Regions from separate parts of the Homo sapiens genome. Here all the other regions are linked to region 4. The links are contacts of gene promoters, found by promoter capture Hi-C in blood cells and fetal thymus (Javierre and others, 2016). All regions are on one chromosome and are shown on one strand. Each heading gives the region's core, a stretch centred on a gene start or on the middle of the fragment in contact. The rest is flanking DNA. Distances are from core to core; before and after follow the strand shown. Region 1 overlaps TRIM38 (tripartite motif containing 38). Region 2 has its middle 27 kb from the start of SLC17A3. Region 3 overlaps SLC17A2 (solute carrier family 17 member 2). Region 4 holds the start of CARMIL1 (capping protein regulator and myosin 1 linker 1). Region 5 has its middle 6.3 kb from the start of SLC17A3.

The links. The method cuts DNA at HindIII sites, captures the fragments that hold promoters and counts their contacts. A CHiCAGO score of 5 or more calls a contact.
Region 1: a contact is called between a fragment that was not itself captured here and the fragment with the promoter of CARMIL1 in region 4, in 1 of 17 cell types (megakaryocytes). The highest score is 5.3, in megakaryocytes.
Region 2: a fragment that was not itself captured here is called in contact with the fragment with the promoter of CARMIL1 in region 4 in 3 of 17 cell types (megakaryocytes, erythroblasts and M2 macrophages); the score reaches 10.9 in megakaryocytes.
Region 3: a fragment that was not itself captured here is called in contact with the fragment with the promoter of CARMIL1 in region 4 in 5 of 17 cell types (megakaryocytes, erythroblasts, M0 macrophages and 2 more); the score reaches 9.1 in megakaryocytes.
Region 5: a fragment that was not itself captured here is called in contact with the fragment with the promoter of CARMIL1 in region 4 in 2 of 17 cell types (erythroblasts and megakaryocytes); the score reaches 6.0 in erythroblasts.

What each region holds. Positions count from the first base shown.
Region 1 is chr6:25,966,709-25,972,265 of GRCh38, forward strand. It overlaps TRIM38 (tripartite motif containing 38), which reads left to right. Exons shown (of 8, transcript NM_006355.5): 3 at 1-225; 4 at 2,617-2,712; 5 at 5,161-5,391. Among named protein-coding and RNA genes, the nearest start is that of TRIM38, 6.7 kb to the left of the region's middle. RefSeq lists an enhancer at 4,311-5,510. The HindIII fragment of the contact is 1,098 bases long and covers 2,020-3,117 here.
Region 2 is chr6:25,898,083-25,903,936 of GRCh38, forward strand. No RefSeq gene overlaps it. Among named protein-coding and RNA genes, the nearest start is that of SLC17A3, 27 kb to the left of the region's middle. RefSeq lists an enhancer at 34-623. The HindIII fragment of the contact is 699 bases long and covers 1,054-1,752 here.
Region 3 is chr6:25,922,526-25,928,269 of GRCh38, forward strand. It overlaps SLC17A2 (solute carrier family 17 member 2), which reads right to left. Exons shown (of 12, transcript NM_001286123.3): 2 at 3,244-3,354; 3 at 1,170-1,381. The coding sequence starts at 3,271. Among named protein-coding and RNA genes, the nearest start is that of SLC17A2, 5.3 kb to the right of the region's middle. The HindIII fragment of the contact is 981 bases long and covers 3,197-4,177 here.
Region 4 is chr6:25,275,559-25,281,469 of GRCh38, forward strand. It overlaps CARMIL1 (capping protein regulator and myosin 1 linker 1), which reads left to right and starts at 3,816. Exons shown (of 37, transcript NM_017640.6): 1 at 3,816-4,277. The coding sequence starts at 4,238. RefSeq lists a silencer at 3,544-4,013. The HindIII fragment of the contact is 9,381 bases long and covers 675-5,911 here.
Region 5 is chr6:25,877,724-25,883,281 of GRCh38, forward strand. It overlaps the pseudogene H2AC3P. Among named protein-coding and RNA genes, the nearest start is that of SLC17A3, 6.3 kb to the left of the region's middle. RefSeq lists an enhancer at 4,510-5,024. The HindIII fragment of the contact is 2,575 bases long and covers 571-3,145 here.

The sequences.
Region 1 (5,557 bases), core at 1,319-3,818, 690 kb after region 4:
CGGGCTCCATTTCATATGGATAGCCTCCGACCCAACAAGCAGCTGGGAAGCCTCATTGAAGCCCTCAAAGAGACGGATCAAGAAATGTCATGTGAGGAACACGGAGAGCAGTTCCACCTGTTCTGCGAAGACGAGGGGCAGCTCATCTGCTGGCGCTGTGAGCGGGCACCACAGCACAAAGGGCACACCACAGCTCTTGTTGAAGACGTATGCCAGGGCTACAAGGTGAGTGTGTGGGCCCGGGAGCTTTGGTAAGTACCAAGTCTTATCCTGCTCCCCAGGAGCTGAGATGATTTAACTTGAAACCTAACATTATGACTTGGAAATACAGCTTTCATCATGTCATTCTTCTGAAAAATAGTTTATGATGATTTCTTGCTCAATTATCTAGACTGTCCATCCTGACCTTCAATGGGATGGTTGGACTCTTATCTCTATCCATTTGTGTTATGATGAATTTCTTTTTGCTTTAGAACAGGTTGTTCTCAAACCAAACACCCGCATTTTTTCTTGTTTCACACCATGAATATCATTTGAAAAACCACAATATGTAAAGCCATGCAGTAGGGCCTGAAAACAGGGAAGAAAGACCCATCACCTTTTAGGTATCTACAGTCTAGTAAAGAAAACAAACCATCAAAAATGTCTGCCTGGAGGTCCCTGGTTTTGGTGGTGGGGAGGGACATTTAGGGTAGAGAGTGGTTCATCTTAGAAGTAACTCCTGAAGGACACGTAAAAATTGAACACCTATTGGGGGATTTTCATTTGGGGAATGAAGGGTCAGTGACATTGAAAATATCACTCTGGTACCTCTACTTTTTTTTTTTTTTTTTTTTTTTTTTCCTGAGGTAGGGTCTTGCTCTGTATCCCAGGTTGGAGTACAATGGTGCAATCTCGGCTCACTGCAGCCTCAACCTTCTGGGGCTCAAGCAATCCTCCCACCTCAGCCTCCCAAGTAGCTAGGACTACAGGGATGCCCCACCATACCTGGATAATTTTTTTATTTTTTGTAGAGACATGGTCTGCCTTTCTTGCTTATACTGGCCTCAAACCCCTGGTCTCCCTCCCATCTCAGCCTCCCAAAATGCTGGGATTAGAGGCATGAACCACTGTGCCCAGCTACTGTGGCATGTCTATGATAAAAGGAATATCAAGGAGTAAAATTCAAACTATCCGTATAAGAAAGGGAGGAGAGGGCAGATTTTAAGCACGATTCAGGAAGAAGAGTCAAAGATTTGGAAATGCTTGGTTGTGGAAGGTGAAGCAGAGGGAGAGGTTTTGTGTACCATCCAGATTTCTTGCCAGAAAGCATATTAAGGAAGGTGGGACTTTGCTGTTGGCAGCATGGAGGAATGGGCATAGTCCTGATGTCCTTTTTCCTTCTCTGTCCTGCCTAAATTTGAGGAAAATGTTGTCTCCAGTGTCAGGCTCCTTATTCTGTCCTCCATGAGGCAGAGGTGGTCTTGTATGAAGGCTCTAAGTCCTTCTAAGGACATGTCAATCATGACCACCACTCAGCTCATGGCAGCTCTTCCTTAAACTCCATGGAGCAGCTAATAACTGCGATGATCATATTCCCATTTGAATTACTTTTCCACCAAGTAGTAAGAAAAGGAACCAGCTTATGTTGAAATTGAGTTTTGTCACTTACTAGATGGGCAATTTTGGGCACGTTACTTAATGTCTTCACACCTTGGTTTCTCCATCTGTAAATGGGGATAATAGCAGTGTCCTCCCTCCCTAAAACACATACACAGGAGGTGGTTATAAGCTTTGAGGACATTAAAATATAGAATGCATAGAATAGCACTTGGCATATAGTAAGGACAATGTCATCTTTTGCTAAAACAGTTACATAGAACCTTTTCCTGAGAACACTCGAGAATGAATGAGTATACTTGTTGGGTTTACAGAGGACAGGAGACAATTCTTTCAGCATTGACTACAATTAGCAATTTGGGTCAGCTTCAAATCACTTTCAATAGAAATATGAGAAACTGTTTTGAAGAATAAGCTAAAAGCTTGACATGAATACTAAATCATTTTAAATTGGATTCATGATACCATTGTTCAAAAGATACCAGAATTCCCCTCTTCCATGAACTGTTTCTAATAACCAGCTGGCATCCTGATTTTTCCTGACTCATAAGACACAAAATTTCATGTGTGCCAAACACTGGTATTGGTTTTGCTTGGTTCAGCATGTTGTTTTACAAAATCTTTTAGATGATGATTACCTTGTTCTATATCCAACTTTTTCCTGGCAGGACTCTAGTGGTGGACATAGCTCAGGCTCTGGGTCAGCAGATGAGATTGCAATTGTTGCTCCACCACCTGGCAGTCATAGCCCTTTGGGCAAGTTATTTTACCCCTTTCTTAGTCTCATTTTCTACAGCACAGAAATGAAGTTTAAAATCCTACCAACTATTCAGGGTTGCCAAGGGGATCAGTATGTTCCTGCACATATAGCCTTTAGCATGCTCTCTAGCAAAAAACAATGAGGACTCTATAAATATTCACTATTATTCAAATATATCTTAGAAGATTGGGATTCCCCCTAGGTCCCTAATGAAGAGTCAAATTGAATAGGCTTCACTTATCAAATTTTTCCTTCAGGAAAAGCTCCAGAAAGCTGTGACAAAACTGAAGCAACTTGAAGACAGATGTACGGAGCAGAAGCTGTCCACAGCAATGCGAATAACTAAATGGAAAGTAAGAATCTGACTTCATTGATCTCAAGCTATTTTCCATTCTAGAGCTTAGGCATAGGGGATGATTGAGGAAAAGCACAATGAGGATTTATTCTCACTAAACCAGATTGAAAAAATGAAACCCAAGGAAGAAACCATTATTTGTACTTATGCCCCTGGTTCCAGGTTTACATCCATGAGTATTTAGCACCAATCTTTCCATCTTTAAACTGTAGTTGGCTGGGATTCCTGATACTTCAGTCAGAAGAAGCAGAATTAGTATGACTATTTACCTAGAAAAAGCATCGAGTGGGTCTCAAACTTTAAATACGTCAAAATAAACCTGGTTTGCAGGCCTCAACTCATTACCCTGGCACTTTTACCACAGTGGAGCATCTGGCTCTCAACTTTACAGGTACAGAAACCAAGCTTTGTGAACACTTAGAAAACAGGATCACTCCAGATTGAAATTCATACTACTCTAGCTCATGAAGCTGATGAAAGAAATATACTTTATTTATTTATTTATTTTTAAATTATTACTATTTTTTGAGATGGAGTCTTGCTGGAGTGTAGTGGTGCGATCTCAGCTCACTGCAATGTCCACCTCCCGGGTTCAAGCAATTCCCCTGCCTCAGCCTCTTGAGTAGCTGGGATTACAGGCATGTGCTACCATGCCTGGCTAATTTTTTGTATTTTAGTAGAGACGGGGTTTCACCATGTTGGCCAGGATGGTCTTGATCTCCTGACCTCGTGATTCACCCACCTCAGCCTCCCAAAGTGCTGGGATTACAGGCGTGAGCCACTGCACCCGGCCTATACTTGATTTATAAGTACATCACAAGTAATGCAACAACCTACACACTTGCAACTACAAACTTTCAGATTATTTCCGTGGCTGACTAACCTCCACATTATCAGAGCCACATTCTTTTATGGAAATATTTAGGTTTGTGCAAAAGTAATTGCGGTCTTTGCCATTAAAGTAAAGGCAAAAACCACAATTACTTTTGCACCAATCTTTATATTTATATAATTCACTAGCTTGCAGTAAAATCCCACAAGCTGATTACCAATTTTCTCTCTTTCAGGAGTCCTCTCTAACCTCTACCCTGATCTTTGTTTGTGGATGTTGCTCTTGAGCTCCTGAGTACACTCTTACTTCCCCCATTTCTAGGATCTTGGGCAATGGGGAAGACCTTGATTGTAACTAACATATATGAAAACCCGTCTATACAAGAGTTAAAGCTGCACCTGTCTCCTACACAAAAATTCCACCTCATCCTAAGTCAAAGACCCTTCTTCTATATCATAGTCATCAAAACACTGTATGAATTTATTTTTATTTTTTAATTTTTATTTTTTTAAGATAAGTAGAGAGTTTATTTGGGCCAAGTTTGAAGACTGCAATCCAAGAACATAGATTCAAATTGCCCTGAATACACACTCCCACTGCATTAATTTAGACAGCACTAATGGAAATTGCAACTTTACATCTCCTCAGATGAGAGTTTCACTTGATTTCTGTCAGTCTTACACATAGGAATGCTTAAGATGACCCTAGGGTAGTAGAACAGTATTTCTCAGTTAACCATAATAAATGCCTGTCACACTCAAAGCTCCCCCTGCCAAGAATTATGGACCCTCTTACCAGCCTGGTTGTCTTAAAATCCAGTCTGGGTGATGTTCATTATAAGCTTTTACTTCAAGAAAATCGCTCCAACTCAGAAATCTAACTTCTTAAATCATAAGTAAAAACCTCTTTTTATCCTTGTAACTGATAAAGTGTTTGAACTTGGCCCTAGTTTCACAATTAAATTATCTAGCACTCCTAACCCAGCTTTCTCCTGTGTCTTGGCTGAAGAACAAGAAAATTAATTGGGTGACTATAAGGAATCTGAGGCAACCTCTTCCACATCTGAGTGCCTGCCTCCCACACATGACTCTGCAGCAGGAAACTGGGGACATTCTTCCAGCTTCAGTGACTCATGAGAAAATAATGTCCCAGTGGCTGATTGTGTGTGTGTGTGTGTTTGTGTGAAAATATATATAACACTTAAGCATTTAACCACTTTTAAGTATATAGTTCAGTAGAATTAAGTGCTTTTACATTGTTACATTGTTGTGCAACCATCACCATTCCCATCTCCAAACTGCAACTCAGTTTCATCTTTCATCTTCTAAACTGAAACTCACTACCCATTAAACAATAACTGTCCATTTTCTGGTCTTGCCAACACCTTGTAACCACTATTTTACTTTCTGTCTCTATGAACTTAACTACTCCAGATGCCTTGTATAAGCAAAGTCTTACAATATTTGCCCTTTTGTTTCTGGCTTATTTTGCTTGAATGTCTTCAAGGCTTGTCATGTAGTAGCGTGTGTCAGACTTTCATTCTTGTTTATCCATTCATCCATAGATGGACATTTGGTTTACTTCCACCTTTTGACCATACTTTCTTGACTCCAGGAGAAGGTACAGATTCAGAGACAAAAAATCCGGTCTGACTTTAAGAATCTCCAGTGTTTCCTACATGAGGAAGAGAAGTCTTATCTCTGGAGGCTGGAGAAAGAAGAACAACAGACTCTGAGTAGACTGAGGGACTATGAGGCTGGTCTGGGGCTGAAGAGCAATGAACTCAAGAGCCACATCCTGGAACTGGAGGAAAAATGTCAGGGCTCAGCCCAGAAATTGCTGCAGGTGAGGCTGTGTACTTGGAGTAGGGAAAAAAGGTATGTTATAGTGCTATTAAAGGAGAATGGTAAGGAAGCATGGGAAGATAAAGTAATGTTTCTTTTAGATGTACATCAGTGCCATCAGGCTGGCCTTCACTAATTTATAGGGTACCTTTATGTCAATTAGAAAA
Region 2 (5,854 bases), core at 153-2,652, 620 kb after region 4:
TATAAAAATCTGATTGAATGGTTGAATGCTGTGCTAAAATCTGCATAATATCTTACAACACTTCTGTGAATCACGAGACAGTTTTGAATGCTAAATGTCAGTTAACAGATCTAAAGGGACCAACATCTGCTTTCCCAAATTATATGAAAGAAGATCCTGATCCCTCATCAGGTGAAACTCACATCAGACAACAGTGTCTGCATTTCTCCAAAACCCGCCTCAGCCCCATGGCCACTTTCCAGGGTTATCCTGCCTACCAAGCACTCTCTTTCCTCAGAAAAACTTGGGGGAAAATGTAGAATAATAATTTTTTGAAGTTCTGACCAACTTCTTGAATCACTCAGCATGTTTTTGACTGCAGGTACAGAAAACGCTGACTCAACAAATTTAAACACTATATAAATTTCTTATCTCCCCAAACAGGACATCAAAGGCAGAAAGGTTCCAGAGCAGGGTGATCAGAGCTCTGGCTCCACTGCCCTCAGTCTTCTTGCCTCTGCTCTCCTTCACAGCAGGCTTTACCCCCCATGCTGGTCACAGTTTCAAGTGTCCATGCAGACACAAGTTAAAGGCAGGAAGAAACAGTGCGTTTCTCTTGGAGATCAAGGAATGCCTTTCCAGAAAACTCCCCCTTATGTCTCATTTGCCAAAACTTGGCCTAGTCTCAGGTGCTGCCTGAGCTAATCAGCTACAGAAGAAGGGACCACATGACTGGTGTGGACCAGTCAGAATTCACCACATGAAGCTAGTAATGTGGCTCACACTTCCCAGGGGGATATGGCCAGGTAGCAGACAGTGGATCGCTGAACAGAATACTGATAGATTTCAGCACCAAGGTTAGAATGGCTACCACACCTAATCCCACCCTATCCCCGTTTCCTTCTTTAATTTTTTCCATAGCACTTATCAGTAGCTGACAAACTGTATATGTTTTTACTTTTTTATTGTCTGTAGCTCCCAAGTAGAATACAAACATCTGAAACTCACTGTATCCATCCTGAGTAATGTTCTTTTCAGCTCAGTCACAATCATTTTTTGATAGCCTATCCTATAAGCTTAACTTATAGTGTTAATCAGTATTAATACATCTTAGTGGGAAAGAAGGAAAAAATAAACGATCACACACACACACACACACACACACACACATACATTTACGTAACAGAGCAAGTGTGAAAATACCTAAAGGCTTTATAGCTCCTTTTGTCAATGGATACATGACAGCATTTTTGGCATTCTTTACTACTCTTATTCTATGCTCCATTTGTCTTCAGTCAGCACCTCAGCTGCCCTTATGTTTTACTTGGTAAGGCAAATTCCTAAATGAGCCTGGTAATTAGTCATCCAGCTTATAGGAAGGTACTATAGTTTTTCATTAACTTTTTCACTGGGCTTGAGAGTAGTAAGGACTCCCAGAGAATTCCTTGTGTTCCAAAAGTACTTCTCCTTGACATCTTGGTATAGGATTAATAACTGTTTACCTTTGATAATCAGGAAGAATGACTCCAGCTAGTACAGTTACGTGATGCCTATACATTCCTTTTTTTCTGGGAAAAATGTAATGTGAAATTAAGTGCAAAAACCATGCCTTGTTTATGTATGTATCAAACACTTCTAGAGCTTTCCCAATACAGTTCTCTTCTCAGCAAACAAGAGGACTATACCCTCATCCCCACCCCTGCACTTAGGTGTAGCCAATGTGTTGTAACTTAAAGAGGAGAGGGCACTGGATGAAGGGAAATCTGTCTAACAAGCTTCTTTATTTCACCTAGTGGAAAAAAGCCTTAATCTGCAGTGGGGCAGTTTTCAAGGACATAGACTGAATTGGCTCATGCATTTATGGAAGATGAGGAGTCCCATGATCTGTAATCTGCAAGCTGGAGACCCAGGAAAGCTGGTGGTATGATTCAGTCTGAATCTGAAGGCCTGAGAACCAGAGGAACTGATGATGTAAATCCCAGTTCAAGAGCAGGAGACCAGATGAGATGTCCCAGCTCAAGCAGTGAGGCAGAAAAAAAGGCCCAAATTCCCCCTTCCTCTGCCTTTTCTTCTATTCAGACCCTGAATATCAGGTGGCATAATGCCATCCACACTGGGAAAGACAGTTTACTTTACTAGGATCACCTATTCAAAGGCTAATCTCATCCAGAAACACGCTCACAAACACAGCCAGAAATAATGTTTAACCAGATAGCTGGTTATCCCCTGACTCAGTCAAGTTGACACAAAAAATGAACTATTTCAAAGCTTACTGTAATCAACAGTTTTGTCAAAAAGATAGACACAAATCAGTGGAATGAGATAAACAGTCTAGAAATAAACCAACAAAAATATTGCCAACTAAGGCAAAGGTAATCAATGGAAAAAAGATAGTCTTAGCAACAAATAGTACTGGAACACCACAATGTGTTAATAAAGTGAAACTGGAGACATCTCTCACACCTTATACAAAAGTAACTAAAAATAAATCAAAGGACTAGATGTAATGTATCAAACATTACATCTTTTAGAATGTATCAAACATTACAAGCTTTTAGAATAAAATATAGAAGAAAATTTACATGATCTAAGATTTGGCCCCAATGAAGTTTTAGCTATAATAACAAAAGTATTAGTCATGGAAGAAAACAAAATTGATAAGTTCAGGTGGGCTAAATTAAGGGAAAAAAATCACTTTGCAGTAGAGAAACCTGAAACATTACCTAAACCACATGATGAAGGTTAATATCAGTGATGTCATGTGGATATCATGTTCTCCCTAAAATGATGTGACAAGAAGGGCCCTTTGCCCTTGTGGTATTATTTCAAAAAATCTATAACTCCGGTGTAATTATGAAAAAAAAGCAAATGATCTTCAGGACTGTTAAGGTCATGAAAAGCAAGAAAAGACTGAGACATTGTCACAGACAAAAAAAGACTAGGGAGATATGACAAGAAAATGCAGTGTGGTATTCCAGATTGGACCTTGGAACAGAAAGAAAACATTAGTGGAAACAGTGGTGAAATCCACATAAAGTCTAGGGTTTGGTTAATAGAGTTTCATGTATCAATGTGAGTTGCTTATATTTGACAAATGTATCATAATAATGTAAAATCCTAACAATGGGGGAAAGCTAGGTGAAAGATATATGGGAACTCTCCTGTACTGTCTTTGTACTATCTTTGCAACTTTCCTGAAAATCCAAATTATTCTAAAACAGAAAAGTTCATGCTATTAGAAGTGAGGATAGAGGTTACCTTGAAGAAGCTGAGGTCTAGAAGAGACCATGAAGGGTCTAATTAGCTAACACACGTTGAGTATCCCTTATGCTTAGAACCAGAAGTATTTCAGATTTTTTCAGATTTGGAATGTTTGCATTATACTGAGTATCTCAAATCCAAAAATCCAAAATCTGAAATATTCCATGAGCACTCCTTTGAGAATCATGTTAGCATTCAAAAAGTTGCCGATTTTGGAGCATTTTGAATTTCCAATTTTTAGATTAGGAATACTCAACCTGAGTAGAGGCTGCCTGCTAATTACCTGGGAGCTAATTACATGGATATGTCATTTTGAGAAAGTTTAGCTTGCTGATATGGATGATTTTCTGGATAAAAATTATACTTTGATAACAATTCTTTTAAAGGAGACAATAGTTATTAACTTTTAAGTACTTTTTAGCTCTACAATTCAGAATTCTTTAGTGCTAAATATTACATATTTTGAAACAAAAGTTTTGTTTATATTTATTTATTTGTTTCCCCCCCCCTTTTTTTTTTTTTGAGACAAGTTCTCACCTTATTGCCCATGCTATAGTGCAGTGGGTGATTATAGCTCACTGCAGCCTCAAACTCCTGGACTCAAAGGATCCTCCTGCCTCAACCTCCCAAGTAGCTAGGAGTACAAGCATGCACCACCATATCCAGCTAATTTTTGTTTATTTCTACAGAGGCAGGGTCTCACTATGTTGCCCAGGCTGATCTCAAATTCCTGGCCTCAAGTATCCTCCCACCTCTGCTTCCCAAAGCGCTGGGATTACAGGTGTAAGTCATTGCACCCAGCCAAAAGTTTTATTTTAAACTTATTATTATGAGCATGTAACAGATTTATGTGGTTTGAAATTCAAACCTACAAAAGAAAATAATAAAAAGCTAACAGATAGACAAACAAAAACAAAAGCAAAACCCCACTTGGCCATGCTCTCTAGTTCCTCATTTCTCTCTTGGAAGAAACCAGAGCAATGTTCCCTGTGTATCCTTCCAGAGATAATTTTTTAAAATACTTTTTTCTTTTTAACAGAAGAGATGGTAGACTACTTCTTTTAAATTAAATTAATATACATTTACTTGTTTCTTTTTATTGCTATAGAAAATGAAGTTGGGGAAACAGGAAAAATGACCTAGTATTATCATACTAACATACCAAAATTTTTCAGTTATATGTATTTCCTGTTTCAGTTTTTACCCCACCTGTTTTTTATTTGGTTTGAAATCATAGTACAGATAAAAACTTGAGGCAGGTATTTTAGACTTGTTTTTCTTTTGTAACATAAAACTTTGAGAGCACCAGGAAATCTGGAAATATTCATTTAGTTATTCATAATTCAAAATATTGTTATATCCACTTTGTGTCAGACTATTTGTTAAGAACTAAACTAAAAGAAAAAGATGGGGCTGGACATGGTGGCTCACACCTGTAATCCCAGCACTTTGGGAGGCTGAGGCGGGTGGATCACCTGAGTTTGGGAGTTCGAGGAAAGCCTTGCCAACACGGTGAAACCCTGTCTCTACTAAAAATACAAAAATTAGCCAGGTGTGGTGACACACGTCTGTAATCCCAGCTACTCAGGAGGCTGAGGCAGGAGAATCACTTGAACCCAGGAGGTGGAGGTTGCTGTGAGCCGAGATCATGCCACTGCACTCCAGCCTGGGCAGCAAAGCAAGATTCCATCTCAAAAAAAAAGATGATAACACCCTCTGGGAGATTACATTCAGATAGAACAAATAAAGGTGTAGAACCTAAGATGTGACAAGGACACTGTTGGGTGACTGATTCTTCCTGGGAACATTTATAAAGGCTTCCTAGGGGAGGGCGTGTTTGTGTAAGAGCTTTCCAGGTCAGAAAGTATGTACAGTGGAAAATGTATATGAAAAGACCGTGTTTGGGAATCAGGGATTATATATTGTGATTAGAGGAAAGAGTCCTAGGGTTTGATACCTACAAAGAATTAGAGTTTCTAGGTGCTTCTGGACATGTGGATTGATGACAGCAATACTAAAAATACAAAAATTAGTGGGGCATAGTGGTGAGCGCCTGTAGTCCCAGCTACTTGGGAGGCTGAGGCAGGAGAATAGCTTGAACCCGGGAGGCGGAGGTTGCAGTGAGCCGAGATTGTGCCACTGCACTCCAGCCTGGGTGACAGAACGAGACTCCGTCTCAAAAAAAAAAAAAGAAAAAAAGCAGGAGTTAGCAGAAAACCAACAAGACATGGGAAGGAGAGAGAGAGCTGCAACACCCAAGAGAAAAAATAGCAATGCTGAAATCAAAGTATAATGAAGGAGAGAGGATGCTGGAAGCTATGAAATTCTTTCTGTGAGGCAATGGGGCAATGACCCTAGAACTGCTGAGTTAGCAGCAGTGACAGACTCAGTGCCAAATCATATATTAGAAAAAAAAATCAGATAGAGGTAAAGTCCAGATCCAAAGAAGAGGGTTTTTAGCAGTAAAGCAGACAGTAGAACCCACCCAGCTTTCTAGGGTGCAGGGGGCCTCCCTTTCAGGCATCATGAACAGTGGGGGACCATAACTAGGCATGATGGCTTCAGATACAGGGCTTGTTCATCTCTTGTTGTGGTCAGGCACTGCCTAATGAGA
Region 3 (5,744 bases), core at 2,437-4,936, 650 kb after region 4:
GCAACTTGAAGGTGTCCAAGATTCCTGAGTAGTGAATCTACTCAGTGTGGATATGTAGACGGGATAATGGAGGAAAGACTGGAGACAATAAATTTATGTACTCATTGTAAATAAGCTAGGTCCAATGTAATAAAATCATTAATCATGAATTATAGGGATGACATGGGAAATGTACAGTACAAGATAATTTAAAGGATAATTTTTTTAATTGGGTAAATTCATGGTTTTCATATAAATGTAAAATAAACATACAACAAAGATTTTATTTAACTCATTGATTAATGGAGGAAGTAAGTAAGATGTTATAACTGGTTCAAAGGAAAACTCAAAGAATCACGCATAACACAAGCAGGAAGCAATGCTGAAATAGACTTTAAATATACAGCAGAGCCTGGCACAGTGGCTCACACCTGTAATCCCAACACTTTGGGAGGCCGAGGCGGGTGGATCACCTGAGGTCAGGAGTTCGAGACCAGCCTAGTGAAACCCTGTCTCTACTAAAAATACAAAAATTAGCCAGCCGCGGTGGCATGCCCCCTTACTCCCAGCTACTTGGGAGGCCGAGACAGGAAAATCTCTTGAACCCGGGAGGCGGAGGCTGCAGTGAGCTGAGATCATGCCACTGCACTCCAGCCTGAATGACAGAGGAAGACTCTATCTCAAAAAACAAACAAACAAACAAACAGCAAAATTGGCTAATTCAACTGGGAGGTGAGTGGAGAAAAGTTTTAACTGATTTTTCTCTTGGCAAAATTTATTTGCAAAGCTATGGACAAGAATCGTTTGCATTTCTATTGGTTATATAGAATTTACAGGGATATAAAATTGCTCAGAAACAATAAAACAGGCAGAGAACTGAATAGGATTGAGTAACCTATAAGAATGTGCCCAGGTAATACCTAGTTTTTCATTGAAGACATCACATAAACTGTTCCATTTTTAAATTTTTCACATTTAACTCTACAGTTCCCCCACCTTATAATCATAATAACCTCAATGAAATCTTATTTTTATTATTGAAGTAAGCAATGTCTCAAAGAAAAATAGTTCCAGTCAGTTTTAATTTGTCATTGGAAATGTATACTTCCATACTCCACAGAATCAAGATCTATGCCTTCCTTTCAAAGTTTTTTCTCTCAACAAAGAGCCCTATTTTCCATCATACTTACCTTTGTATCAAATTCCTTGATGGATATGCTGGAGTTATTGAAGGCATCTGCAACAGGCCCCTCAGTGGAGGCATTAGATAGACCTTGCTGCTGAGTGGTGTTCACCATGGCGATGATCGCAATGCTCAGACTCACACGCTGCGTTATCATGGTGAAGTTTGAGAAGTGCATGATAAGAGCCAGCCCATAGCGTAATGAACAGAAATCTGGACCTAGACAACAACACAGATGTATGTAGTGAGCATCCTGACTGAGACCCCTTTCTTTTCCTTTCTCTCACAGCTCGATCTGATAGAACTTTGGATGACACATGAAGTCTCATTGTCTTTTTTTCACCAAAATAGCCAGCACTACAAACCCACTTTGTCAAATTATTTGGTTGGCTTCAAGACAGCGAATATGGGATCTTATAACCAAGTAAAGCAAATATGGCCATCTTTCAAGGGGATAGGAAACACATGATAAATAGAGAAAACCCACATGTAAGGCATTTATGTCATATTGCTCCAAAATGAAGTGAATGGGGATGACAGTGGCAGAGCCAGTCACATAACCTTCTCAGCGTCAATAAAATTCCCTGGGCTGTAAGTGAATAGTCCCATCTGTTATGCACATTTGTTTATCACAAAGCTTGAGAGTTTATACATAACGAGCTGCCTTTGAATTAAGGTATTGCACATCCAAGGATTCTCTTTTAATACATTTGAGAGATGGTACTTTAAATGAGCACTTCGACTAATTCCCTAGTGTAATGTCTACTTGGAAATGTTATTGCTATGTGTCACTAGGTCCTGCCTTCACATATGTTCAACTTAAAAAAAAAAAAAAACTACGTGGGGTGCAGTGGCTCACGCCTGTAGTCCCAGCATTTTGGGAGGCTAAGGCAGGTGGATCACTTGAGGTCAGGAGTTTGAGACCAGCCTGGTCAACATGGTGAAACCCCATCTCTACTAAAAATACAAAAATTACCCAGGCATGGTGATGCATGCCTGTAATCCCAGCTACTCGGGAGGCTGAGTCAGGAGAATCACTTGAACCCAGGAGGCAGAGGTTGCAATGAGCCAAGATCATGTCACTGTACTCCAGCCTGGGTGACAGAATGAGACTCAATCTCAAAAAAAAAAAAAAAATTAATATGTAGAACTATTTTTACAAAGCTTGCAGGTGATGTGGTGCTGGAAGATATTCAATATATTGAAAGGACAAATTTTTTCTTTAAAAGCATCCCCATAAAATGGAACAACCACAGACCAATATTGAAAGGGTTCCCATGTGCATGATAGATTGGATTTTTCCTGCTTATTTGAAGAAAAGCACTAAAGTGAAAGAAAGAGAAAACCTGTGAAGACACAGATAAAAATATAATGGAAGAAATAATTTTTAATGGCCAAAAAAGCTCACAGATAAGAGTGGTGGTCTGGGAAATAATTATTTCCATTTTACTGGAGGTTTCCAAGCTCAGGAGAAAGAGCCAGCCGCTTGGTGAGAATATTATAGTAGGGATTCATACATAGGTTGGTTTAAAATGACTTTCCCGGGCCAGGCGTGGTGGCCCATGCCTGTAATCCCAGCACTTTGGGAGGCCGAGGCCGGTGGATCACGAGGTCAGGAGATCGAGACCATCCTGGCTAACACGGCGAAACTCCATCTCTACTAAAAATACAAAAATTCATCTGGGCATGGTGGTGTGTGCCTGTAGTCCAAGCTACTCGGGAGGCTGAGGCAGGAGAATCACTTGAACCCGGGAGGCAGAGGTTGCAGTGAGCCGAGATCGCACCACTGCACTCCAGCCTGTGAGACAGAGCAAGACTCAGTCAAAAAAAAAAAAAAAAAAGACTTTCCCAAAACTTATTCCACTCCCTAGATCCCAGGATTTATTGCTTATTTGGCTTAATTTCTCACAGATGATTTCATGGGGCTAAGGAAAAAGCAACAGGATCAGGGGCTGGAGCTGGCTCCAATGTTACACTGGGAGTATCTTTACGAAGGGTCAGTGTGATGCAGAGATGTGTAAATGTGTCGGAATAAGCTTCAGCTTATTAACATAGCCTGCAAACAAGAGCAGTGGCTTTACCTTTCCTGGTGGCAGGCTTCCCGTCCATTTAGCTTCTGTGGGAAATGGTACCACGCTTTGTGGTGGAGTTTCCCTGTGCCCTGAATCTCTTTTACTACGACAGTCTTTTATCTATGGAGAGAACATAATCCAAAACATAATACACAAATAATTTCCCCTTGTTAATGTTGCCTCCTCTTAGCATCAGTAAAAGTTTTGACCCAACACAGCTCTATAACTTACATTTTATGGGGCACTACTGGTATGCTTTTGGTTACAGGATTGTTAAAAGGAAATCTGGCTGTAAGTTCCAGCTGTGTGACCTAGAGCTAGTCATTTAAATTCTCTAATCATTCATTTCCTCATCTGTTCAATAAAGATAAGGCTCCTTTCTTAGTGCAGCTGGAAGAATTAAATGAAAAATTGCATGTACTTTATCAAACCACAGAGAAGCATGCGAAGGTGAAGAGTGGTATTGCTTGTAGCAGACCATAAGACAGGACAATTAAACTAAGCTCAAGAGCTAAGGAGGAAGGTTCCAGAGCGGTCTTTCCTTTCATTCTGATGGTGTTTCTCTCCCCTCTGTACCACCAGAACAATGTTCCATGTGCCTTCGAACATGAAGGATGACATTACATAACACTAATATGTATTACATTTAAAAGTTTAAAATGTTTATTCTCATGTTTGCTACACACAATGTGGACACTTGCTTGGACTGACAAAGTCTTCATATCACCTAGAAAATTATAATGAACAGGGACTAATTACTACAATTGTGAATAAATCCAGCTATTGTGACAGGCAAAGAGAATTCATGGCTCTAAATATGGACATGTTTAATTTAATATTTGTATACTAATCAAATTATCTTTGGGGATGCATACATTTGTTTCTTTTAGGAAAAATCCATATCCTAAGAATATCATCAATTTTCCATTCATTCCTAAATTGAAGCTTCTATGACTTTATTTTTTAAATTGCTTAAAATCCTTCAAGACATCTGAAATTTCTGTGACTTTAAAAACACATGTATCGGCCGGGTGCAGTGGCTCACACCTGTAATCCCAGCACTTTGGGAGACTGAGGTGGGTGGATCACTTGAGGTCAGGTGTTCGAGATCATCCTGGCCAACATGGTGAAACCCCATCTCTACTAAAAATACAAAAACAGCCGGGTGTGGTGGCACATGCCTGTAGACCCTGCTACTAAGGAGGCTGAGGCAGGATAATTGCTTGAACCCAAGAGGCAAAGGTTGCAGTGAGCCAAGATCGTGCCACTGCACTACAGCTTGGGGGACAGAGCAGGAATCCGTCTCAAAACAAACAAACAAAAAAACACATATATCAAACCTCTATTTTATCATTCAAGGCTTTGCACTGTTTTTGCACACAAAATTTAAAAGACTTGTCCGTACTTTAAAGATATTCATAATCTGTGACCTTAGGATGAAGGATTATAAAGAAAGGCATAGATGAAAAATTGTGTCCAAAAATATCCTTTGTAGTATTACTCATGACTGCATAATGTTAGAGATAAATTAACCTAATAATGAGAGTCTGGCAAGTCAATTTGATAGATTATTGTGATGGAAGCTATTTTAAAATGTTTTCGACAATATTGAATTACATTAGAAAAATGCTAGTACTCTAGTGTACAAAGCAGGATACGCTGTGCACATCCACATACAGGAATAGAAACTGATTCACACAAGTGCCAGTAATGACTATTTCTGGGTTACAAAACAGGATGATCACTTCATTCTTTGTGACTTTCTATATTTACCAAGTGATTTTGTAAATAATTAGTAGATACTCATTTTATATTCAGAAGTAGCTAAATGTATTTAAAAGAGCAATAATTGGACTTCATCAGCATGGCAAGTATAGTTTTCTGCTTTCCAAATATCTCTAGAATTCTGGGAATAGTATCTCTCCATCTAAATTTTGAATTTTGGGTGTTTGGAGATTTTATTGTTGTTGTTGTTGTTGTTTTGTACAATGGACCCAAATGGAGGCCCAATTGCTAGTAAGATCAGGTCAGCACCAGGACAGATACTGGTTGTTGCTCTGCCTTAGAAGGCCTCCAAGTCTTGCTAACATCTGGATATCAGGAGTTCAGCTCATTGCTCTACACTCAGATCCTAGCTGAAGTCATCTGTGGTCAAACCCAGAGTTTGGACCATTTTCTATTTGATTTCACTTTTTATGCAAGATCCCGTGGCTTGGCTGAAGGCAACTCTTTAACTGTACATGCAGCTGCAATTACTTACACTCCACTTAAAGCTTTCCCACCAACTTCTCCAATCTTATAAACACTGAAAGCTGAAAGAGACTCAGAGATCCTCTGGCCCAACTGTTTATTTTATTGATAAGAAAATTTGCGTAGAAAATTTGAAAAGTTGCCTGAAACCACATGATGCACAGAGCCAGCACCAGATCCCCTAATGCCTAGACTACTGCTTGTTCTACCTATTACAACTTCCCCTTTGTTTTCGTAATATTTTAATCACAAGCTTAAAA
Region 4 (5,911 bases), core at 2,566-5,065:
TACTTTTTACCCAAGGAGTCACTGGGTAGCTCAGATATGTCAAACCCTTATTTCCTCACTTGTCATAGGTCACTTATTGTCAGATGAATCATGGATTTCATAATATATTTTGCATTTGTGTTGGGAATGGGGTGTGAAGAGCATGATTTTAACCATCTATATCAATTATAAAACATTCAGATTTCAGTAACTTTAACATAAGAAAATGTTTCTTTGAATCAAGACAACACGTTATCTATTGAAGTGTTCAAGTGTTCTGAAGTTGGAAAACCATTGTAAAACTGGGAGCTCTAATTATGTCACATTCAAACAGATGTGTTCTGAATTAATGACTGAGTTGATTTTCCTCTTTTTTGTTCAGTCATGTGTTAAGGATTCGTTCTGTTTTATTATTGTTATGAAACATTGCAAACACATACAAAAGTGAAAGCAATGCCTTCCCATGGATCTGATATCCAGCTGCAACAAAAATCAACACAAGGTCACTCTGATTTCATCTATATCTCTACTCAATACTCTCCACCCCCCACCATCCCTATGGGCTATTTTCAAGCAAATCTCAGGTCTCATATAATTTCATTTGTAAATACTTTAAAGGAGTATTGTTTAATAGCCATTTACCTTCCACCGTCTTCTAGTCAGAGATAAACTAAGTTTTCTTAGAGGTGTTTGCAAGCTTAGTTCACATTGCCTACCCTCCTGAAAGATCTTTATTAACCAAGTTGAAAAATACACCTTCTTAAGAAGGCCCCTTCCCCAATGGTTACTGGGGGTGGAAGGTAATCTTAAAATCATTACTTGGGGAGTAAAATGCTGGTGGTTCCCACATTTCTGAATACCTTTCCATTTTAAAACCAGTTCTTAATGCAGTAGACGAGATCAGAAACTGACCTACGTAAGTTTGTGATTTTTTTTTTTGTTAGAGTGCTGATTTCTTCTTAACTTTTTTGTTTGCTTTATCTCCATGGGTTTAATCATTACATGATATGGTTCTAATGATAGCATGTTGTGTCATTTTAGGGACACTATTTTCTGCAAACTTTTTTACTCAGAGTGTTTTCTGACCATAATGCATTACAAAATGTACTATATAGATGTGAATATATGCTTAGAATTAAAAATAAAAATCCATGGATAAGTTTTCAAAATAATGTTGCCACTCACTGTATGTTTCAAAAGAGATGGGGTTTCACTATGTTGCTCAGTCTGGTCTGTCCCAAACTCCTGGGCTCAAGCAATCCACCCACTTCGGCATCCCAAAGCATTTGGAATTACAAATGTGAGCCACTGCACCTGGCCTTGCCATGCTTTTCAAATTACACTCTTCTCCATCTTCCTTTTCAAAATAATGTTGCCACTCACTATATGTTAAATGTTAAACATTTTACAGATTCAAATGCAGTAGGGATTCTCTGAAAAAGTTTTATCTTACTAACAGCTTTCAGATTATCAGTACTAGTTGTATGGCTTAAACACAGCCACATGTAAATACTTACTTAGATGAAGCTATGGCTAATCACATATGTAACACAATCAGTTTCATGTAGTGGTTTGATCACTCGTGTATTCAAGACTATATAAACAGGGATGAATTTGAGGAAGTTGGAGTGATGGAGTGAGAAAAGTTTGTTTTTGCAGCAGTAGCAGTAGAAGGGGCAGGCCGATTCAGTAAACAAGCACACATTTCAGAATGCAAACTGCATTCTCCAAGCTGGCACCATGGTTTTACGGTGCTAGGGATGTTTACTGCTTGTTGGGTTTGCAGCTTTATAAACAGTGCTCCTTGGAGTTCTCTGCTTGCTATTCTGAAACATATTTGAGTTTTGCAACCGAGAAGTAAATGACTTTGATTTCCAAAATCAGTCAGTCATTTTTCAGTGTTGTGATAGGAGATTCATTTGAATTCACTTCTTCAGAGATGCAGGAGCCAATCAGGATCCTGTTGCAGTGAAAATGATTCTTTTATTGAAACCCCAGCTTCCTTTAAAAGAAGCCAAAGAGTACTGAATTACAGAACTGCCATACAGCCTTCCCTTTATTCTTTCCATCACCCAGGCCACAGGAAAAAAAAAAAAAAGACAAACTTTTGTTCTTATTTTCACAAGTTATCACATGGTTTGGAAACTTCAGGGCATTTCTGAAACTTCATTGGTATGTGCCAGAAAAGTCCTCTTTAACACACCAGGTTGAATGAAAGACAGTTTGAGATGTTAATTTCCATTTACTGCAGAAAAAATATATTTAATGCATTAAGGAAATGTCTAGCTTAAAGAAATTGCCCACTTTTGAAACAAATGGTTGGAGGCCTGAGGTCCAAAGCTCTAAAATCAGTTAACAAATGTTTATTGAACACCTATTTTGAACTAGGCTGTTGAAGAAGTTCAAAAGTCTAAGATAAATTCCCACTTTCAACTCACCTACAGTCTAGTTGGGCAGAAAAAATCCAAACTCAGGGGACAATGCAAGAGTTAGATAGTAAAACCAGACAAATACACAAGCAATGAAACACGACACCATATGGTTGGGTTTAGAAAAGTGTTTCAGGCAATACATATTGTAGAGGCTTAGGGATCACAGTAATCTGAAAATCCCTGGAAAATATTCACAAAGAAGGTAGACCATTGGGATGGGTTTGAAAACATAGATAAGAATCAGATAACCTTAAGAGGAAGGAGGAAGCAAACAGTGAGTCTGGTTGTAATAGAGAAGGGAGTGGGAGAGGTTAAGGAGGGTGGGAAGGGGCCAGGTTGGCAAATCCTTAGTGGTAAGGCCTGGCTGTGGGGCTGAAGATGATTCTAAGGGGTCCAAGGTCAACAGCAGTGTTTAAAATTAGATTGCCAAGTGCATGGATTCCCTTTCCTTTCCTCCTTTTCTGTCCTTTAAAAGCAGAACCTGATTAGACAGTCTGGGACATTCCCAGCCCTAGGCTAAAAAGCAGCGATTGAGGCACAAAGTATTCTTGGCCCTGAAGTTGAACCTCTGGGGATGGAGCTCAGGGAAGTCATAGGGAGTTTGGGCCCAGGTAGGATCAGACCTATCCGCAGGCTTACATAGGCTCCAGTGATTAAAGCTCAGCTTCCTGAATATGCCCCGAGGATAAAAGAGACTTTTCCGAGTGAAAGGCATTTTCCAAGGCGCTCTCAACGGGAATGTCTGAGATAGCGAACTGCGGCTGCAGAGCACCAGCTGAACGCACACACACAAGTGTCTTCTCACGGTATGATTAGTGTTCACAGGTTTCGTCTAGCTCATCAGAAATGAAGAATAGCGATGATGAAGTGACATGTCACCGGGAGGGTTGAAAAAGAAAAAGTGCGTAAGAGGGTCCCAAAAAGAACCAGCTTCCGTGTAGACGGGTCTGCAGAATCTGCCGTCTCCCGTCTTCTGGGTCCCCTGGCCCGCCCGGAGTGGGGACAAGGAAATGGAAAGCCCGGCTCACCCGGCTCTCCTCCCTCGCAGCCAGCAGATGGCTCCCGGGCTCTCTCGCGAGCCCGCTCGCCCCCTCTCCAGACGCAGGGCTTTTGCGGTTTGGGAGGGAGGCTGCGAGGAGGGGCGCGGTGCCCGCCGCCGCCACCGCAGCACCGCACAGCGTCTCTCCTGGGGGTGCGACCTACGCCGGGGACCCAGCGCTCGGGCACCGGAGGCCGGCCTCGCACCGGTGCGGAGGCCGGCTCTCGCGAGGTGAGGAGGAAACGCAGGAGGAAGAGGAGAAGGAGAAGGAGGAGAAGGAGGAGGGCCGGAGCTGCCCCCGCCCAGCCGGAGCCCGGCAGGAGCGCGAGGAAAACCTACTCCCCCCGCCCCGCGCCGCTCTCCCCGCCCTCTCCCACGCCTTCCGCTTTCACCTAGGGCTGTAGGTGCGGCGCGGAGGCTGGGCGGGAGCTACGCCGGCCCAAGCCCCGCCGGGGACCAGCGAGCCGGGAGGAGGAGCAGGCGCCACAGCCGCCCCGCGCCCCGCGCCCGCTTGTAATCCGGTCCGCTCCTTATTCAGCCGCCGGGAACTGCGAGGAGGCGTCATGTAGCAGCAGCAGCAAATCCGCCTCGCATTTGCAACTCTTTTTTTTTTTTTTGGTGGGGCGGGGGGCGCGCGGCAAAATTCTGTCTCCGCCCCCCCTTTTCTTGCCCACTTCCATTTGCAAGCTGCATCTGCCTCTCTAAAAAAATTGAGGAGTTCGGGGAAGGGCAGGGGGCCATAAATCAGAGTTGGACCTGCAATAACCCCCACACCTACAGGGCAACCATGACCGAGGAGAGCTCTGACGTTCCCAGGGAGTTGATAGGTAAGATTCACGCGGTTGTTGGTTTTCCACCTTCCTCTGCGTACTCCTCACCTCTCTCTCCCTTCCCACCTCTGCTTTCCCGCAGGTCTCGAGAAGTCTTGGCGCCCCTTAGGGCAGAGTGGTGTTGGGCAGGGTCACTGGGGGTGCCGGGAAGTTTGTTCCCATCCGACCGCCTGTAGAGCCAAGTGCAGAGAGGGAAGGCTTCGGGGAGGAATCGGGAGTCCTCGGGAGGTGGGTGGGAGGAGGGTCTCGACTGTGAGCCCTGGGCACCTCCTCTTGCCCGGAAGCGGGGATCCAGGTTGGCGAAAGAAGGGGGCGGGCCATCTTAGACTTGGGAGTTCTGCAAGCGAGGGGAGCCCTTTACAGCTCCCAGCCCACTGCCCCAAACTCGGGAAAGTCCGGGAAAGCCTATTGGAAGGACAGGTGGCGAGCGCACAGTAGGTCGTCTCCGGCACGTGTCAGGCGCTTTCCTGAAAATGCCCCGCGGGAGGTGATCTTCTGACACGCAGACTTGGGGGAGTGGGCGCTAGTCTGGTAAAATGACTGGGCTTGGCAAGGTGTGGCTTGGTGTAGCCAGCTGGGAGCGAAAGGGTTACAGGGCTGACGCAGACTCAGGCCAGGAAATAGAGGGTTAATGATAAAAGCCTTATTTTAATAATGATTAACCTACCGATTCTCCCTATAGGGGATCTCTTAGGGAACCCGTGTGTGTTACGCTGTGCAAGGTGACCCATTGTTTGAGTACCTTGAGGTTTTTTTTTTTTTGGTGGTGGTGGGGGCGGGGCTGGTTAAGTCTTGGGGTTTAACTTAATTATCTGGAGGGTTAAAATGGCAGAGCTGAAATAGGATGGGAGAGTGTTCTGAAAACCTAGCGTTTAAGCATGTATATGTGTGTAGCATGTTATACTGTAACAAGGTATGTGCGTCTGTGTACAGATGTGTTTTGAGCCCTAGTGACCTATATTCCCTCCTGTACCATTCTTGGCACACTACACAGCCTACAGCTCACAAAGATGATGTTTAATCGGCGCTGACAACAAGAGGAAGTTCTGAGCACCCGTTGATCTCCATGTGTGGAATTTGCCCCTCTGTTGTTTCTTTTAGCTAATAATACTTTGGAGGAATTTGTGTATGCCCTTCCGTTGGTGACTGTTAACTCAGCAGGTAAAACTTGATGTAGAGAGGCTGTTGCTAGGTTTGTATGGAAGCCCCTACTTCTGCTGAATTACAGACAAACCTGATCTTTTACCAGAATTTACAGTATGAAATTATTCACAGACGCACGCGCGTGTGCGCGCGCGCACACACACACACACACACACACACACACACACGCACCTCTCATCATGATCCCAGCAGATCCTCTTCTCTCTCCCCAACCCTGTGGAGTCTGCATCTTTTGCTGGAGTGAGTGACACATCCGGTTCTGGGAGGCTGCGACCTTTCCAACACCCCAAGCAAACGCCAGAGGCTCTGAAGACGCCTCCAGAGGTCCTGAGAATGAGTGTAGGGCAGGGCTTGCCTGGCTGGTCAGGGGATAAGGATGGCTAAAGTGGGTGGCAGATTTTTACTTTATATAAGGAGTTGTCCTTAAGTCTGGAAATGGAAAGTGTAGGTAATTACTTAGGCCCAAG
Region 5 (5,558 bases), core at 608-3,107, 600 kb after region 4:
TTAATTAAAAAGTTGGAGGCAGTCAGCCATCAGTCAAAAAATATTGTTACTGTATGCATTCCAAAAAGAAATGTAAAGGGATAGCATTCCCTAGAAACAATGAATAAAATAAAATTCCCTGTATTTAATAAACAGCATCTGTAAAACCTACAACAAACATTCCGAAGGTGAATCTTCCTGTTACAATCAGATACATAAAAGAGGTGTTTGCTACATCTATTCACTGGAAGGCCTAACTAGCACAATAACACAAGAAAGAAATGTGAAGCAATTAGAAAACAAGTAAAACTATGATTATTAACAGATGATATGATTGTCTACATAAGAAAACAAAAAAAATCTGTACATAAATTACTTAACTAATGTGAGTTTGGCAAATTTGACAGATGGAAAAGTGATATTCAAAGACTGACTGCATTTTAATTACCAGCCCAAAACAAAAAAAAAGATATTATAAAAAGAGATACAATTCACAATGGCAATAAAAGAATGTAACAGCCACAAAAGGATATAAAACCTAGGAATAAATCTAATAAAAGATGTAGAAGATCGTTACGCAGAAAATTGTAAAGCTTTATTGTAAGGTATTGAAGTCGAACTAAATAAAGAGACATAACATTTTTATGAACAGGAACATTCAAAAATGTAAAAATCTCGTCTCTCCAGACTAATCCATATGCCATTCCAACCAATATTCCAAAATAATTTTCCATATAATTTAATTTACTAAATATATCCTCAAATAAAGATGGTGGTTATCTCTTTCTTTGTAATCATTCTTCTACTCTGCCCCTCACCCCCTTTTCAGAGACTCCTTGTAATAAGGCCTATTTAACACTAAATACGTGCTGAACACTATTCTAAGCACTTTACATACAATAACACTTTTACTTCTCATAGCAAACTTCTATGGTAGGTACTATTATTATGCCAGTTTACAGAGAGGTTAAGTAACTTGCTAGTAAGCTACGGAGTCAGGAATCCAACCACCCAGAAAGTCTGGCTGTTGTGTCCATTCTCTTACCCTCCAGACTATTTCATCTGTTACGCAAACATTGAAACCAACTTTCAACATCAGTTTCCTATAAAATTTCCCTCTCATTATTCTTCCTTTTGTATCTTGGCATTACTGTGAATTTCACCTGTATCAATTTTCTTCCAAATTCCTGAGATCACCTGCCTACCTTCCTTCCCTTCCTTCCTTCCTTCTTTCCTTCTTCCTTCCTCCCTCCTTCCCTCCTTCTCTCCTTTCCTTCCTTCTTCCCTGCTTCATTTTTTTCTTATTCTTTCCTTCCTCTTTCCCTTCCTTTCTTATTTCTTTCCTTCTTCCCTAATTCTAAGGATATTTGTCATTTCTAAGAAAACCTTCCTTTTCACATATCTAATTTTTGTTTTAAGTATGTCAGCATATATTTCTGATATTATTCATTTATTTATGTTAAATATTTATACTAACATTCTTCTAGTTTGGAGAGGGGTTCTAGTTTTTCTGTTAATTTTGGTGCTCTGTCTTGAGGATGTTGAGTTGTACTTGTCTATTGGTTTTTGTTACAAGCGATGGTGTTGAATTGCCAAATAGAAGAATACCTTTCCAAAACTTAAATGTTATTTACTACTGAAGTTCAGGTTAATGAACTTTCTGATTCTGAGAACTTGTCTTAGCAGATGAGGGTGAATGTTGGTTGTGCTGCCGGGATGGGTGTATGAGGTGCTGGCATTTTGAATCTGGGAGCTCCATGTTCTTACCTGAAACATTTTTATTTCTTAGCCCCTAGTGACCACATCAATCACTTAAAGTGTAGCTAGATTGCAAGTCTTAGCTTGGAGAAAAATGAAAAGGGTAATTTCTCTCTTATTCTCCTCTTTTTTATTTTATTTTTTCCCTCTGCCTCCTTTATGAAGGGGAGTTTGCTGCGGCTTGACATGGCTTTTCTCAGCTTCCAACATTTACACCAAAAGCTCTTAATTTGGCTCAGTTCCTTTTGATTCCTCCCTCTCCCACTCAGACTCTTATTTTTCTCTTGGTGCTAAACCAGGATGAGGAGCAAGATCATGTCAATGTTGTTACAAGAGAGGATTAAGGGCCAAACCTATTTATTGGCCTTTGTATTGCAGAGTTTAGTTTTTATTGTACTCAGTTGTGGCTTCTATTTGTCAGACACCTGTGCTTACAAGTGATAGAAGTCCAACTGAAATGGCTTTGGAAGAGAAAGAAAGAGAAAAAGAAAATATGGAGACTGAGGTAGGTCACAGAATATAAGAATGAGCAGCTGTAACAAGCACAGTTCCAGGGACCAGAGACTGGAATTAAATCTCTGCCCCAAAATAAATGAAGACCTTTGGAACTCTTATTTCAGCTGTTCTTTTGCACCTTCTCCCTTCTCTTAAATCTACTCCAAGAGGCAACAGACAAGTCTGTTGGCAGTTTTGGAGTCTCATTCATCACATCCATGAAAGCGAAGAAAAAGCAGCTGTGTTCAAAACCTAGGAGAGGCTCTTATTGGCCCAGCCCAGAGTACTTTATTACCATTTGAACCAATTGTTGCAGCCTTGTGGGTGCAGTGCCAAGTTGTCTGATTGGTCACTCCCATCATCCCAATGATTTTCAACCTACAGGTCATTACTCTTATCAATTTAGCACCTCTTATCAATTTAGCCACTATGGTTTTTTAAACAAGATGGATGAGGCCCAAATAGAATGGAACAGATCATAGTGCATCCCACTTAGTAAGAGTCAGGATTATTTTGTGAAACTTTCGATGCTGCAACACATGTGTTTACATATAAGCCTATATATTAGTATTGCAGCACACTTTAAAAATGTATATTTTTTACTCTAGGTCAGTCATACTCCAAAAGGGTTAAAATTCTTCTCTTTACTGCACGTTTTATGTATTTTATTTCTATTGATAATGCCTCTGATTCCCAGACATAATGCTTTTGGTTGGACTTTCAAAAAGGACGGCCTAGAAGATAATTGTTCAACCATGTAATTGCTTCACTTTTCATTACCCTGTGGGTTTATTGGGCAGCTACATCTATTTCTCCTCTGGACTCCAAAGTCAAAGGTTGTGTTTTGTACGCATGCTTCTTTCTTTACTCTAGGTCAAACTCTATTCCACAGTCCAGTCTGGGAACTGACGTAAGCTTCTAGTTGTTAGACAATGGTAGCCATCAAAGAAACTTAAGGTGATCTAAAGTTAGGTTTAATAAAAGTAAATTTTAGACTAACATCTGCCATATGTACAGATATTTATGAAACCATCTAACCATCAGATTGCGCCAAATGTTCATTCCTAGCAGATGCAACACCATTCCAGAGACAGGATTTTGTTACCCTTAGAGTTAGTATCAGGCAAAAGGAAATCAATCTAAACCAATGCTTTGGACACAAGCTTATCTAGAAATGAAGCCTAGGGTATCCTCCATAAAACTACAGGTTACAGACCTTACTGAACTCTCCAGATCTGGACTCTGCAGAGTCCAGCTTTGGCAGAAATGTGGCTGATAGAGGCCATTACAGGAGCGTCCTTTGGCCTGTAACCCTCTTTTACATCAGCCTGGCTGACCACCCTAGAATGAGACCTCTTGGGAAAGCTGACAGCCCACAGAGTGAAACCTTCAACCAATTGGCACATACATACCTCCCTATAGTAAAATATCTAAAGGCTAAATACAATCTTAAACATGCCAAATAAAAAGCACTAAAGCATGTCCCTTAGGCTTGAAGAAATTAATCATCAGTTGACAAATTCATTATAACTTGATGGCAAATAAAACAGCCCACATGAACAAAACTGTTTTATAAGTGCTTTTCTGGATACCACATAAAAATCTCTTTCACAAAATTATTAGGTTAATGCAAAAGTAATCGCGGTTTTTGCCATTAAAAGTAATGGCTTCCCACAACCAGATGTCCCATGCAAAGTAGTGCCCTCTAATGCCAAACCAAAAGCAGAGGTCATAAAGACTATATCCCTTACACACACACACACACGCGCGCGCGCGTTAAAATAATGGCAAAAACCGCGATTACTTTTGCACCAACCTAATACAGCTTGCATTGAAATCCAGTGCTAAACTCAGCTTTCAGGAAACCAATGTGACATAATATTGGTAAAGAAAACAAAGTGGAGAGTATCAGGGTAATGAATGAAAGGAATGGAGAGACTTTGTTGAAATACTCTTGGGCATTATCTGCCTATGCTTTTACTTGAACTCGTGGCTGGCTTTTGGTTTTACTTTTTCTTTCCCCTCGAAAAGTAGGTCATCTGCTCTGCTGGGCTTTATTATCTGGGGACGTTACTTGCCCTTGGCCTTGTGGTGGCTCTTGGTCTTCTGGGGCAGAAGCACGCCCTGAATGTTGGGCAGGACACCGCCCTGCGCGATGGTGACTTCGCCCAGCAGCTTGTTAAGCTCCTCGCCGTTGCGAATGGCCAGCTACAGGTGGCGCAGGATGATGCGGGTCTTCTTGTCGCGGGCCGGGTTGCCAGCCAGCTCCAGGATCTCGGCGGTCAGGTGCTCCAGCACGGCCGCCAGGTACACCTGCGCTCTGGCCCCGACACGCTCGGCATAGATGCCTTTGCGGAGCAGACGGCGCTGGAGCCCGGCCAGGGAAGACCAAGTCTGGGACTTCAGCGCCAGCCTCGCCACCCTGCTTCCCACAACCAGATGTCTCCTGCGAAGTAGCCCCCTCTAATGCCAAACCAAAAGCAGAGGTCATAAGGACTATATCCCTTACACACACACACACACACACACACACACCCTAACGGCTAACTTCTCTGGAAGGTGCCTCATCCAAGCAAAGCAGAACTGAAGATACTTTTACATGCCTTTTTCCGTTATTTTTTATCCAATCAGACTTTTTCAGACTTCCTTTGAATACAAGTATCTGCAGGATTTTCCTTGTCACCTGTAGACACTTTTTCTCTTTTCAAGGAAGCTAGAAACAGATTTTGATATGCCTAAAGTTTTGAAGTGTTCTACAATCTCTAGAAAGGGCTCCAAGAAAGCCATATGTAATATGCATTTTTTGTATAATTTGAGAATATTTATTTCCTCTATAGAGAGCAAGAAAATGAATGGGAAGTGGATGTATGAAAGTCATGTGTTATGTATTCATGGAAATTAATAAGTATATCATACATAGGTTAAGAAATGGGAGGACAAAGAGATAACTATATTCATGAGGCCTGAAATAAACAAGACACCTGGGCACAAGATACTTATGATATACTAAATATACAGCTAACACTAGATATCCAGGGTACACTGAAGGTTATACAAGCACCCAGTATTTTCAAGGCCTTGATTCAGCCACCTACTGGGGACACCCATTCTGTCACCATGTGTTCTCTGTTCAAGAAACACACTACTATTCAGCCTTTAACAATAAGGAAGTCATGCTGTTTGTGAAAACATGGGTGAACCCAAGGAACATTAGGGTAAGCAAAAAACAAAACAAAACAACAACAACAACAAAAAAAAACAGGCACAGAAATGCAAACACTACATCATCTCACTTGTATATGGAATCTAAGTATATCAAACTTATA